2 separate regions of the Homo sapiens genome follow, and region 2 is linked to region 1. The links are contacts of gene promoters, found by promoter capture Hi-C in human tissues and cell types (Jung and others, 2019). All regions are on one chromosome and are shown on one strand. Each heading gives the region's core, a stretch centred on a gene start or on the middle of the fragment in contact. The rest is flanking DNA. Distances are from core to core; before and after follow the strand shown. Region 1 holds the start of CEP70 (centrosomal protein 70). Region 2 has its middle 38 kb from the start of MRPS22.

Region 1 (2,700 bases), core at 44-2,543:
AGAGCTGAACTTACCCCAAATAGGAAAGAGTTAAAATGGAATGTCATCTCAACCAAATCATTCTGTCTCAGGAGAGGTGACATGAAGGGGCAGAACCTTGCTTTGAAGCAAAAGCTGTAGGGAAAACTCCAAGTCAGCCACCTCTTCCCCAAAAGGCGGGGCAGGGGAGGCCAGAGTCTACTTGGCAATATTTAAAGTACAAAACTCATGCAGAGGCTTGAAACCAATATGGGTAATGCCTGCACAGAGTTTAATATATTATACATATATTTTTGAGACAGAGTCTCGCTCCGTCACCCAGGCTGGAGTGCAGTGGCGCGATCTCGGCTCACAGCAACCTCCGCCTCCCGAGTTCAAGCGATTCTGCTGCCTCACCCGCCCGAGTAGCTGGGATTACAGGCGCACACCACCATGCCCAGCTAATTTTTGTATTTTTAGTAGAGACGTGGTTTCATCATGTTGGCCAGGGTGGTCTCGAACTCCTGACCTCAGGGGATCCGCCCACCTCGGCCTCCCAAAGTGCTGAGATTACAGGCGTAAGCCACTGCGCCCTGCCTGTTTAATATCATTGATTGAAAAACAAAGTGGCAGTAAAAAAGGAAACTCTGATTGGTCTCTCTGTTACAGGTGACTTAGCCTTCTGGCATTTTTCACCTTGAAAAACTCCTATTAGGCCCTGTATAAAGTCAGAGGTCTCCTGAATCCGGAATGAGGTTAATAAACTGGAGAAAGAGATACTCACCTGTGCTATTCGCCTAACCGCCCCCTTCTGCTCCGAGTCCTCACTCCCCAAACAACCTTCGCGGTTGTTTGACACAAAACTAGCGCTTCAGCCCGGGTCGATTTTGGGGGATGGAGTAATTACCTACAGCTTAAATCGAGTCTGTGCCCGACGTGATTCTAAGCTTTACTCTTACTGCCTCATTTAACCCTCACAACCACCTTGTAAGGCAAGAATTACCAGCTTTAGTATACAAATAAAGAATCGGAGGCGCTGAGACATTAAAGGAGAAGCCAAAGAACACAAAGCCTGGGGAGCTGGGACTGGAGGCAGTTTTGTCCGATCCCCAAACCCTTACGCAGGGATTTTTAATTGGCGCGACCCTGTCCCAGATGGCTCCTCCCCGACAAGGGTCAGTCTGACCACTTTTAGGCCCAGGTGAGGTCAAGTCCGGGGTACTCCGGGAAGGGGCTCACGCCGACGCCTCTGAGAGCCCCGAGAGCCACTCACCTTACTCAGTCGCCGGCCTCCCACCAGCAGCCAGCCGGGCCAGGTTAGGCTGGGATCAGCTACGTCAGGCCCCGCCTCCGCGACCGTTACCACCGCCGGGGGAGGGCGGCCAATCGAGCCCGAGCGCGTCGAGGGCCAGCCCCTCTTTGGCCTGCGAATGCCCCCAAACGATTCTCTCCAGCCTCTCCGGGAAGCTGGGTCCGCCCCGCTCCCTCCGGTTGGCTCACTACGGGGGGCGGGGCTTACCGCAAACGAAGGCGTCGGTGCGATGTGCTGGTCTCGGGCACGCTGGCGCTTCCAACGCACTCCTTGGGTGCCCTGTCACTTACATGGAGGCTTATTTGCCCGGAAGACGTCAGAAATACTTGTGGCCGTGGGTGAAAGTGAAGCCTGGGTTACCTGGCCACCAGAGACTGCCCTCTCTCTCGCCCCCTACCCCGCCGCGACTACGAGCCCTTGCTGGGGTACGGGTCAGCATGTTCTCGATGTTCCAGACCTGAATGACCACTGTAGCAGCTGACATTTGGAGGACCCCAATAAATATTTGTTGACGACAGTTCATCTTCCCATTCAGCATTTTCCACATCTCGACGAAGCGTCAGGCCCTACCTGAGGCTGTAGCTGTCCACCATTGTCATTGTATCTTATAGCCACATGGTGTCGCTGTTGACAACTTGTCTTTTCAAATCAGTCAAATGATGTAGGTCTGTGTTACAGTCAAATGTTGCAACAGACTGTGTTGCAGTCAAATGATGCAGGTCCCACAGTAGCCAACAGGGATGTCCCATCTAGGGCATCAGCCAAGGGTCTCTCATCAGGAGATCCAAGGGCTCTTGGAGCTCAATACTTTCAGACCCTTCTTAGCCTTCTTCCAGGCAGCTGGGACTACACTTAGGTTTGATCTCTGTGTTTGCCCCATGCAAACATGTCCCTACCCCAACCTACGCCTACCCACTGTGCTTTCCATACCTGGATATTCACTCTAACGACGGTTAGCAGATTGCATTTTCAGTTCTCAAAATGCAAATAGTCTCAGTGCTTCCCTTTTCCAAGATAATAGGGTGCCCTTGCATACTCTTCTGAGAATGGCTGCCCTAATTGTAGAGGCCAAACATCTTTGAGTCAGTTATTATTATTTTGGATGCACGTGATATAGAATCTGAGTTAAACTGTCTTCCTAAAAAATAAAGAAGTTGCTTATCTCGCATAACAGAAAGCTCAGAGGCAAGGGAGACTTTGATTAATTCAGTGGCTAAGCAAGTTAACAAGGACCCAGTTGCTATTAGTCTCTGCTTTGTTGTAAAAAAAAAAAAGGGTAGACTTCAAATTCATACTAACGTGATTTTCCAGATGTCTACTTGGAGAAATCAGGACCACATACTTTCTTTTTCATCTAAAACCTTTCCTTCTGGTTTTTTGAGCCAATAAGTTCACACAGGCACACACTCTTCCTCTTTACCAGTAACTGC
Region 2 (2,700 bases), core at 101-2,600, 710 kb after region 1:
TCATTCAAAGAAGCTCAGTCCAAGCACCAAAAATAACTTAAAAAGTACTTCTTCAATCTTTGTTGCTTCTCTTGAATAACATTACAGGAGATCTCTTGCGTAACCACCACAATGATTCTGAAAGATGCTCTCCTCCTCACCTCACTTCTCCCATATCCTGTACCTACTCCAAAAAACCCTCACTCACTGAAGGGTTTTTCTGTTCTCTCCCCATTGATGAGCTGATTTGCATTCGAATATGGCAAGTGGAGGAAGCCTCTGAATGCTGATACATCAGTAGTTTTTGACCCATTACAGAAATAGCGTCTCTAAAGCACTTAGCACAGAGTCTGGCTCTTTGTAAAGTCTCAATGCATTCTCTTATTAATTAGAAAAACTGTGAAAGCAAATAATAGTTACTAAAAAATTAGAACTCAGGGCCCGGCGCGGTGGCTCGTGCCTGTAATCCCAGCACTTTGGGAGGCCGAGGCAGGCGGATCATGAGGTCAGGAGATCGAGACCATCCTGGCTAACACGGTGAAACCCCATCTCTACTAAAAATACAAAAAATTAGCCAGGCGTGGTGGCGGGCGCCTGTAGTCCCAGCTACTCAGGAGGCTGAGGCAGGAGAATGGCGTGAACCTGGGAGGCGGAGCTTGCAGTGAGCCGAGATCGCGCCACTGCGCTCCAGCCTGGGCGACAGAGTGAGACTCCATCTCAAAAAAAAAAAAAAAAAAAAAAAAAAACCAAAATTAGAGCTCGAAAAATATTATCAGATAGTACAAGTAGTTCTTTTTCTCCTAAAAAAAAATAGCTGAAGACAGTTATTTAAATCTTGAAAACCTTTAAAAGAAGCTTTCCCCTAATGTTTAATTCCTTAGATCTTCCTCCTAAAACTGTGTCTGTGGATCAGCAAGGAAACTGCCTCCCGGTTCTGCTCTGGTGGCCTCTCTAATTCTCGACATTATTGCCCTGTTTCTGAAAACCACAGTGAACACCCTGAAACTCTGGGGACAATTCTGACAACTTTGGAGCTGGGAGGGAGTTCATGGCCCCTTGGCTTCCAAAACAGAAAGAGGGGCTATGACCTGGCGCTTGGGATTGTCAGAGTTAGTTGGATTCTGAACTGAGAAGAACTGTCTGAGGACAGAGGGGAGATGGATAGTGCAGAGAAAGGATCATTCATTCATTCATTCACTCAACAGCCCTTCGTTGAGCATCTATTGGTAACAGATTGTGACATATTATTTTTTCCAAAGATAGCCATGCCCTATGTTTATCTCACCCCATATGCCTTTCTTGCAGGGTGACGGACACTCCTTCCACCTAGGGGGACCTGCATTTACTCCCCTTGAATCTGGATGGGTGTGTATGACTGCTTTGGCCAATAGAATATGGTAGAAGTGCTATTATATGACTTCTGATTTTAGGTCATAAAAAGGATACAGATTCCAGTTGTTTCCCTCTCTCTCTCTTTCTCCCCACAACCCCACACTCTCTTTTGGGATGCTTGCTCTTGGAACCCAGATGCCATGCTGGGAGGAAGCTCAGGTCACATGGAGAGGCCCAGGTAGTCCTGCAGTCAATAGGCAGCATCAACCACCACACATTGTGAATGATCCTTCAGATGGTCCCAGACCCTAGCTCAGGCCCAGACATTGTGGACAAAGTGTCCCATCTGTGCTAAATTCCTGACCTCTGGAAACCTTGGAGGTAAAATATAACTATTGTAGATTTGAGTCACTAGGTTCTGGGATAATTTGTTAGGCAGCAATAAATAGCTGGTGCATAGGCTCTGTGGGGAGTCCGGGCCACAGGAAGAGCTGTCGGGATCTCTGGGGAGATCACTAAGTAAACAGACAGTGACTGTGTTGCTTGATAAGGGCCATAGAGGGGAGCACAGAGAAAGTGTGTCTGACTCCCCTGGGGTACTGGGGATGGGGGCTCAGAAAGTCTTCTTGGGAGAGGTGACATGTCAGCTTGGTCTGGAAGGGCTAGAGTTAGCCAGCTGAAAGGAAGGATGAAAAATGGGGAAGAATGAAGGGAGGGGGCACTCCAGGGGGAAAACCTGGGCCAGGGCCATGTCCCTGGGAACTGGCTGCTCAGGGTGTTATCTGGCTTTTCTAGGTGACAAATCTCTCTAAGAACTGATCATTGTATAGGGTCTCACAACTGGCCAAGCCCCTGCATCTACCCAGGACAAATGAAATCAAGACTGTGGCCTTAGAAATCCTGTTCCAGGCCAGGGCCTAGGTACTGGCAGGGTATGAGGCGGTGGCCCACAGACAGCAGTGAGGAGTTATCCCAGAGCACATCTTTCTCTTGGGCTGTAGCAGCCTCTGAAAGTACTGGAAACCAGCAGGGGAGGGGGCCAGGGGCGAGATGGGGGTCAGTAGCATGGCCAATGCATTTGGGCAGCATGGGAAAATCCTGAAACAGCTTCCTACTCCAGGGGAAAGGTGTTTTTAATGCAAATTACAGCAGCATTGTTACCTGTAAGTTGGTGCTGACTTGCTAGGGCAGCAAGGCTGGCATTTGACTCCTTTAGATGTTCCCCATGGCCGAGTCCCACTCTATGAACTGCCCTTCTCTGAACATAGCTTCTCCCTGGTGGCCTTGGGTTTTTGCCTGAGCCCCTTCTCATACCCGGAGTGCCCATCCTGCTATTTTTATCTAGTCCCTCACCTCCTCCAGGAAGCCCTCCAAGAACCCTCAGGCTCC

The links. The method cuts DNA at HindIII sites, captures the fragments that hold promoters and counts their contacts. A contact is called where the count stands out against the background at its distance.
Region 2: a fragment that was not itself captured here is called in contact with the fragment with the promoter of CEP70 in region 1 in 1 of the 25 tissues and cell types used here (bladder).

Annotation. Positions count from the first base shown.
Region 1 is chr3:138,592,967-138,595,666 of GRCh38, forward strand. It overlaps CEP70 (centrosomal protein 70), which reads right to left and starts at 1,294. Exons shown (of 18, transcript NM_024491.4): 1 at 1,232-1,294. RefSeq lists an enhancer at 1,499-1,558. The HindIII fragment of the contact is 13,008 bases long and covers 1-2,700 here.
Region 2 is chr3:139,304,462-139,307,161 of GRCh38, forward strand. No RefSeq gene overlaps it. Among named protein-coding and RNA genes, the nearest start is that of MRPS22, 38 kb to the right of the region's middle. The HindIII fragment of the contact is 4,198 bases long and covers 1-2,700 here.